Regions from separate parts of the Homo sapiens genome. Here region 1 is linked to region 2. Evidence: promoter capture Hi-C in human tissues and cell types (Jung and others, 2019). All regions are on one chromosome and are shown on one strand. The core of a region is centred on a gene start or on the middle of the fragment in contact, and the rest is flanking DNA. Distances in the headings are between cores, read along the strand shown. Region 1 holds the start of PGA3 (pepsinogen A3). Region 2 holds the start of TMEM132A (transmembrane protein 132A).

What was found. Contacts are between HindIII fragments. The study calls those that stand out against the background at their distance.
Region 1: a contact is called between a fragment that was not itself captured here and the fragment with the promoter of TMEM132A in region 2, in 2 of the 25 tissues and cell types used here (H1 embryonic stem cells and spleen).

The regions. Positions count from the first base shown.
Region 1 is chr11:61,199,622-61,204,127 of GRCh38, forward strand. It overlaps PGA3 (pepsinogen A3), which reads left to right and starts at 3,894. Exons shown (of 9, transcript NM_001079807.4): 1 at 3,894-3,999; 2 at 4,486-4,506. The coding sequence starts at 3,944. It overlaps LOC124902678 (a long non-coding RNA gene), which reads left to right. Exons shown (of 4, transcript XR_007062691.1): 4 at 1-1,249. The HindIII fragment of the contact is 5,848 bases long and covers 1-4,506 here.
Region 2 is chr11:60,922,867-60,927,016 of GRCh38, forward strand. TMEM132A (transmembrane protein 132A) reads left to right here and starts at 1,594. Exons shown (of 11, transcript NM_178031.3): 1 at 1,594-1,867. The coding sequence starts at 1,768. It overlaps TMEM109 (transmembrane protein 109), which reads left to right. Exons shown (of 4, transcript NM_024092.3): 4 at 1-577. It overlaps LOC124902676 (a long non-coding RNA gene), which reads right to left and starts at 2,531. Exons shown (of 2, transcript XR_007062688.1): 1 at 2,353-2,531. RefSeq lists silencers at 1,490-1,849, 1,910-2,129, 2,170-2,239. The HindIII fragment of the contact is 5,282 bases long and covers 229-4,150 here.

The sequences.
Region 1 (4,506 bases), core at 1,643-4,142, 280 kb after region 2:
AAGCCTGTATAATGTCATCGCAAAAGCAACATCCCATCTACTTTGCTGTATCCTGTTGGCTAGAAGCAAGTCCTGCCTACACAAAAGGGGAGGGGATTACGCAGGGATGTGAACACCAGCAGCATGAATAATTGGGGGCCATCCTACAGTCTCTCTGCCATACCCCTGAATTGGTGTCAGCAAGCATGCCAGCGTCCCTCAGGGTGCTAAAATCTCTAATGTGGAGAAACATTATCATCTTCACCAATCTGAGAGCTTCCCCTCAATGTGATCCAAATATCCATCCAGGTGGAAAGGAAGAGCCCCTTCCACACCAGCTTTCCCTTCAACTGACCACAAATGCGCCAAAGGCACGGCCTAGTCCTACCATGCTCAGGGATGTACCCTCTGCAGCTAGAGCATCCCTGCACGGTACACAGCAAGTGCACAATAAGGCATTTGAATGAATGTGTAAAGGGGCTTGCAGGTTTCTGCCTGGGGAATCTTCCTTCTGCTTCCCAAATATACTTCTCTGCTCAAAATTCCCATGTGGGCCCCAGACAAACTGTGCCCCCAAAATCAGTGCCCATCCTTGGGCTCCAAGCTCCCTCCCTTCCATCTGGTGGCAGCCTTGAGTGAGGGGATTCCATCTGGTGCCCCCAGAACTTAGGCAGCATCTTCAGGACCATCAGGTTCTTCACATGAGTGCTAGGATCAACCCATACTTAGGTGATGGATACTCCAAATACCCTGACTTCATCATTACTCTTTCTATGCCTGTAACAGAATATCACATGTACCCAAAAAAAATATGTAAAATATTATGTATCCATAAAGAGAGAGAGGGCCAGGTGCAGTGTGGTTCACTGTAATCCCAGCACTTTGAGAAGCTGAGGCAGGAAGATCGCTTGAGCCCAGGAGTTCGAAACCAGCCTGGGCCACATAGTGAAGCCCTGTCTCTACAGAAAATACAAAAGTTAGCTCGGTGTAGTGGCTCATGCCTTTCATCCCAGCTACTCAGAGCCTGAGGCCAGAGGACTAATTGAGCGTGGGAGGCTGAGGCTGCAGTAAGCCATGATCACCCCACTACGCTCTACCCTGAGTGACAGAATAAGACCCTGTCTCATAAAACAGAGAGAGAGGCTTGAGAGGGAGGAAAGAAAGAGGAAGAGAAGGAGGCACCAGAAGACATGAACGTGGAAAATACAAGGGCTAGTCATACTGGAGTGAGATTCACAGTTAAAAAAAAAGAAAAGAAAACAAAAGAAAATGGGCCCAGGATTCACATTTGGGGCACAAAGATGTCAACTAACAGGGGAGTCTGTAATGTCAATGTGTTTTCTACCAACCACCACTGTCCCTGAACTAATCCACACTGCCCACTCCTCAATACTCACCTGGAGGCACTGGGGGCAACTTGGAGCTTTTATAGAACCTGTGGCTCTCATGGCTGGACAGTCTGAGGATGCCCCAGGGGATCCGATTTCAGAACAAGACCCTGAGACAGGGCTTCCTATCTACCTGGTGACCTCCCCGCTCCCCTGTCCTCCTCCCCAGCAATTTATGCATCAGGGTTTTCACTCTACTTTGTCCACTGAATAAAATCTCACAATCCATTGGGTTGGTAAGCATCCTCTTTCTTTTTTCTTTTTTTTTTTTTTGTTTGTTTGTTTGTTTGTTTGAGATGGAGTCTAGCTCTGTTGCCCAGGCTGGAGTGCAGTGGCGCGATCACGGATTATTGCAACTGTGTCCCAAATTGGTTCCTTCCCGGTGGGTTCTTGGTCTCGCTGACTTCAAGAATGAAGCCGCCGACCCTCACGGTGAGTGTTACAGTTCTTCAAGATGGTGTGTCTGGAGTTTGTTCCTTCAGATGTTCAGATGTGTCCAGAGTTTCTCCCAGTTGGTTTGTGGTCTCGCTGGCTTCAGGAGTGAAGCTGCAGACCTTCGCGGTGAGTGTAACAGCTCTTAAAGGTGGCGCGTCCAGAGTTGTTTATTCCTCCCGGTGGGTTCGTGATCTCGCTGGCTTCCGGAATGAAACTGCAGACCTTCGCGGTGAGTGTTACAGCTCATAACAGTAGTGCAGACCCAAGGAGTGAGTAGCAGCAAGATTTATTGTGAAGAGCGAAAGAACAAAGCTTCCACAGCCTGGAAGATGTCCCGAGCAGGTTGCCACTGTTGGCTCCAGTGGCTTGCTTTTAGTCCCTTATTTGGCGCCACACACATCCTGCTGATTGGTCCATTTTACAGAGAACTGATTGGTGCATTTACAATCCTTTAGCTACACACAAAAGTTCTCCAATTCCCCACCTGATTCTCTAGACACAGAATGCTGATTGGTGCATTTACAAGCCTTCAGCTAGACACAGTGCTGCTTGGTGCATTTACAATCCTTTAGCCAGACACAAAAGTTCTCCAAGTCCCCACCCCATTAGCTAGACACAGAGTGCTGACTGGTGTGTTTACAAACCTTTGGCTAGACACAGAGTGCTGATTGGTGAATTTACAATCCTTTAGCTAAACACAAAAGTTCTCCAAGTCCCCACCCGACTCAGAAGCCCAGAGGGCTTCACCTCTCACAACCTCTGCCTCCCAGGTTCAAGCGATTCTCCTGCCTCAGCCTCCCCAGTAGCTGGGATTACAGGCGCCCACCACCATGCCCAGCTAACTTTTCTACTTTTAGTAGAGACGGGGTTTCACTATGTTGGCCAGGCTGGTCTTGAACTCCTAACCTCAGGTGATTCACCTGCCTCACCCTCCCAAAGTACTGGGATTACAAGCGTGAGCCACGGCGCCCGGCCAAGCATCCTCTTTCTAAGTCACTCACCCATGAGTATGAATTGTTTGCCCAGATTGCTTCACTCCATTGTAGCTGATTTCAACCCAGTTGTAAGCCTGGAGCACCTGGAGAAATCAGACCCAGGTGGGATCTCAAAGGTGGAGAGGGTGGGAAAGGAGCAAAAGAAAGAGAAGGGGTGCAGAAAGGGAGGGACACAGATTCCAAAGACATACCTGGCCTGTCTGAAGTTTGCCTCCTCCAGGAAGGGAAGGCAGCATTCTCCCGGTGCTGTCTCCCTCCTCCCCCGTGTACTGTGCACATCTCCTTCCCAGACTCAGCCCAGTTGCACCAAAAGCAAGCCACAAGGCCCATAGGCTAGTCAGACGCCCAACAACCCCACACAATGACACTTATGTGGGGAATTGTGTCCTGAGACCCAAACGACTGACCCCCCAATGTGCTGTGAATAAGCAGTGACCACAACCAGTACCACCTATGACTGAGTCGGGGGCTGCTCTCTAAGAACCCCAGCTGCATGCCCTCTGGGACAAATCAGGCCACCTGGGGCTCCTTCACATCTCTCCAATGCTGTGTTAAACGCACTTTTAACCAACTTTGTCAAAATGCTCAGCTGGTAAAGTTTTAACGTAGGCCCTTGTCAATGCTTCAGAAATAAGCCTCTGGCGGCGCGACAGAGCAAAACTCCGTCAGGAAAGTAAGGAAAGAAAGGAAAGGAAGGAAGGAGGGAAGGAAGGAAGGAAAGAGAGAAAGAGAAAGAAGGAAAGAAAGGAAAGAAAAGAAAGGAAACAAAGGAAAAGAAAACAAATAAGCTTCCAGGTCATTGCTTAGAAAGAAAAAGAAAGAAAAAAAAAGAAAAGAAAAAAGAAAGAAAAAAGCCTCCCGGTCATTGCTCCTCTCTCTCTCTGCGGGTCCATCCCCATGGCACCCTCCCCCCTCCCCATGGTGCAAAGTTATAGTGGAAAGTGCCTCAGCTGGAAAGATCTCAGAATGTGGCTTAGGGCAGCCACAATCTTATCAGGAGCTTCTCTGTTTGGGATCAGGGGAACCGGTGACTTTCAGAGGCCGATAAGGCGGGACCCAACTTGTATATAAGGGGCAGCTCATGCTGCTGCTCTGCACCTTCCTCCCGTCTTGCCTTCTCCCTCGAGTTGGGACCCGGGAAGAACCATGAAGTGGCTGCTGCTGCTGGGTCTGGTGGCACTCTCTGAGTGCATCATGTACAAGTGAGTCCGGGTGGTGTGGGTGTGAAGACGCTGCCTCCCACATCACCTTTCTTTCCTCCCGTGTCTTCCTTCTTCCCTTTTTTCTCCCTCTCTATTCAGCTGTCTCCATCCCCCTTTTCCGCCTCTCTCTCTGCCTTTTTGGGAGGCAGCCCTGCAGACATGGTTAAAACTCGGGCCCAGCCTGACTGTGGTTCCCAGCTCCAGCCCTAGTCAGCTTAACTTCTTTGCATTATGGGGCAGAAGTGGGAGCTTCTCCCTTCCTTCCATCTTCCTCTCTTAGATCAGCTGGTTAAGAGTCCAGCCTGGGTTTGGCTCCCAGCTCCAGCACTAGTCAACTTAACTTCTTTGCATTGTTGGGCAGAAGAGGGGGCGTCTCCTTTCCTTCCTTCTTCCTCTCTTAGACCAGCTTCCCTTCCCTTCTGGGGCTGCCACAGCACCCGGTCAGCAGAATCCTTGCCTAATTCCTCTTCCTTCTCCAAACCACAGGGTCCCCCTCATCAGAAAGAA
Region 2 (4,150 bases), core at 344-2,843:
CTTTGTGTCAAGAAAAGAGCAGTCACTCTCAGAATCTTGATTCCCCATCAGCCAAAGCAAAAGATGGCTGCTGCTTTGTAGGCATGTGCCTGCAAGTGGGACCTTGCTGGGCATTATATGCCCTGTGGGGGTTTCAGAGACCCTGAAAGAGGAGGGAGGACCCGCCTCCTTGTCTGCACAACTGCATGCACTTCTCTCCCCATCGCTCCACAACCTGAAACCGAGAAGGAGTTGCTGACCAGTGCCCACCCCGGCAGCCCGGGAGGAACACAGGCAGCTCCTTTCCCTTCACGTGGTCTGCAGAGAGCAGGGTGAGCTGCCAGCTGCCCCTCTCCACCAGGGTACCCTGTCTTGGTGGTTAGGGGCCACTTTTCCTTTGAGGCTCTAGTGGAGGTGGATGTCCTTCTCTGCCAGGCTTGGCACATGATGTGAAGAATAAATGCCCAATTCTTACTGTTCAGGTTTGATGTGGAATCACAGCTGCAGTGATATATATTTTTTATCAGTGCTTGGTTGGTTTTAAATAAAGTGCACGCTATTTTATTATCTTGTTCTGAATAAAATGTATTTACTCCAAGTCTGGATTGCTTCCATGTCTCCTCTACTGCTAAACCCATTTCTGTAGTGCAGCTCCGCCTCCCAATTTCTCCCTGTGGGGGCAGTGTGAAGCTGGCAGAGGGGAGAGCTGAAAAGGCAGGCTGGTACCAGGTACCCTTCCCTCCAGGAGCACAAGGAATTAGGAAAGCATGCCCCCATTACAAAACGTAGGAACGACTGGCACTGCTGGAAATGCGTGTGCTTGCTGGGCAGAGGGGTCACCCCTTCCCTGCAGTGTGCTGAGGTGGGTGGGCAGCCTGGAGAAGACTTGCCTGCCCTCCCCTTCACCACCCACCTGAGGACTTTCCTGTGCCAAGGTTTCCAGTCGGCCCACAGGCTGGACCAATTTTGCGGAGGGCCTCAGACATAATTTTTTCTTTGTAAGCTGCCCAGGGCATGAGAGTGTGCAGCTGGGGCCCCTGCTCTGGGCCTCTCCCCAAACTGCCTGGTAGGCAACACTGGGTCAGGACCCTTGAGGCTGGCCTTCCCTCGGGAGTGTTGGGCAACCCTCAACCCTCCTAAGCGCTGCAGGACGCTGCCCAGGTGGAGCTGGTCAAGAGACTAGAGCTGCCTGCACCTAGAGCCCTTCCTCCACGGCGGTGGCCTAGCTCTGTCAGGGCAGGCTCAGGTGGTTGGCATCTGGCCCCGTTTGACCCCCTCCCTCCTTTCCTGTCCCTGCAGCTCCCGTCCCATGTGTCCCTGAATTCTGGTTCTGACTCAGGTGTCAGATGCCTTCACAAGTGAGCTGCTTGTGGGGGTGGGTGAGGCAGAGAAAGTGGCTTTTTCTTCCCTGATCAGAAGCTTCCGTGAGGGAGCCACACAGAACTCACCGAGTCCCTCCTGGCAGAGGCGGCCGTCCTCTGTTGCTTCCAGGGACGTGGCCCTCTTCCCGACCTCGGTCGCCTGAGCGCGCAGGGATTGGGGATCCGTAGGGCACTAGGACCCGGCGGGGCGGAGGGGGCAGCCCATGTGCTGCGATTCGCTCCCTCCCACCCCACTGCTCCCGCTCCATTGTCTGGGAATTGCAGCCGCGGGGCGGGCGGCGGCGGCGGCGGCGGCGGCCGGGACCCAGCGGGCCAGGTGGGGACGGCGCGGAGCGGGTGCGGGAGATGCCGTGCGGGACTGGGGCCACCTGAGCCGCCCGCCTCGTCCCCGCCTTCTGTGGGAAGGATGTGCGCGCGGATGGCCGGTCGCACAACAGCGGCCCCTCGGGGGCCCTACGGCCCCTGGCTCTGCCTCCTGGTGGCCCTCGCCCTGGACGTCGTGAGAGGTCAGCGGGAGGGGAGGGCCGGGGCGAGGGGCGGCCGGGCCCGGCCGAGTGGGAGCGAGTGATGCCCGGGAGCCACCAACCTTTGGGTTCTCGGACTGAACCCTGAGCGGGGTCGCCCCGCAGCGCCCTGAAGGTCGGAGAGTTCTTGCCCTCGGGAACCTGCCCCCAGCCACTCGCCCCTAAGGCTTCCTTCACCTTGCACGACCCGGCAACTCCTTCCTGACCCGGGGCAGCCCGGCGCAGGGGCTTCCCCGTCCCGCACCTTCTGCGAGGGACCCCTCAGCCCGGGCATCGAACCCGGCGGCCCCGGTCCCGGGCGCACTAGCGTCATCCCCACTCCCTCACTGTGGTCTGTAGCGCTGCACCCTCCTAGCCTCCTTCCGCCGCCACCAACCCACCCCCCTCGGGAGTGGAAAGCAGCCCCTTTGCCTGGGACCTGCAACAGACGCAAGCCCTCCCTCCCCCTTCCCCCAGGGCTCCCTGACCTTGGCGTCTCCAGGGATGGCCGCATCCTTGCCTTCCAGAACCTTTGAGAGGATTCCTGTCACTGCGGGAAAGGGCAGCAACTTCCCTGTGCTTCGGGGTGGGGGTCGGACTCCCTTGGCCTGGGCTAGCTGGGCTGTGGCTGCAAGGCAAAGGATGCCACAGAAGACAGAGGGACAGTGAAACATTCTCTGCCCTCCCCACCGAGAGAGCCGAGCGCTGGGTGATGGGAGTCCGTGGGAGTCAGGCTAAGAGCATCTTGTAATTATGGAGGCAATGGAGTAGGAGGCGAACCTGAAGCCAGTGGCTGCCCCCAGAGAGCAGTGGTCACTTGTTACGCTTGGGGCAGGGGGCAGGGAGAGCCTGTCAGTCATATGCTCCTTGGTGGGGAGGGCCAGGAAGGAGGTTGAAACCAATTCCCCCACCCCCACCCACAGTCCAGCTGTGGGGCTGAGAGGGAGCTAGCTGTGGGGTTGCTTTCAGCCACCTGCTCCCCATCCCGAGGGACGCCATGGGAGTCCTAATAGAGAGAGGAGGAAAACCTTGTCAAATCCATTATGCAGCAGCAATAATGCCTGCTCCCTCCAGACAGCACTCCACAGTTTACACAGCCCTGTCCTGTCCACAGTGCCACCTAATGCTCCTGCCCCTTTTACAAGTGAGGAAACAGGCTTCAAAATGTTAATGCCTGACCCAAGTTTCATCAATTTAAATTCAGGTCTCCAGGCTCCCAGGAAATCCTCTCTAGGGAGCGCTTCCTAGTTTGGGGGAATTCCAGGATGAGCAAGACAGGGTCCCTTGTTTATAGGAAGATTACTAATTCAGAGGAGGCACCCAGGGTTGCAAAAGACAGGAGACTGGTGGGAAGGTGAGTAACCAAGGAGGGCTTCCTTCAGAAGGAGGCAGTATTCACTCATGGCCCTGAATGAGGAGGGAGGTGCCACCGGGCAGAGCAGAGGAGAGGAGGTGCGCTCCAGGGCATGAAGCCTGCAGGGTGCACCGTGGCAGTGGAGAGTGGAGAGAGAAGTGGCAGGTGGAGACGCCGGATGGTCTAGTGGCTAATACCTGGGATCAACCCCCAGCTCCTTCACTCTCCAGCTGTGGAACCACAGGCAAATACCTTAACCTCTCGGCCTCATTTTCTACATCCACAAAATGGGATTCATCATAATAGAACCTGGTTCACAGAATTATTACAAAGACTCAAAGAGTTCATATACATACAGTATTTAAATTCTCACCTGCATATAGCATTCACAAAATGCTAATTATTATTATTAGTGCTCATAGTTAGAGCAAACCAATATGGCTTAGTGCTCCTTTGTCCTTCTGATGATTGACTATTTTGACTGTCTTCCCCAGGCTCCTGGTCCCCACCCCACCCCCAGGGCAAGCAAGTGCCTTCACAGACCTCTTCAGCACCTTCCGCGCCCGCCCATCCCACACTTGCACTCGATACCAGTCGGTTCAGGGAAGAAGGGAGCAAGCTTGGAAAGATGGTGCAGGTTGCCATGGCAATGATGGGGGAGGAGGGGTGGATGCCCAGCAGAGCCTGGCCAAGGATTCAGGGCAGAGAAAGCTCACTTCATTACCATATTTTACTACACTGGCCCAGTCTGCCGACGGTTGCACCCCAGAAGTGCCTTGGTATCAGAGGCGAGTAGATGGAGGGCAGGAGTTGGGGAAAAGGAGACATTGAGAAGGCTGTTGGCGAGAAGAAGGCCAAGGTCTGTGGAAAGTAGAAGGAATAGCTGGGAAGCATCCAGTCCTGGACTCAGATTCGAATCCTGGCTTTGCTAC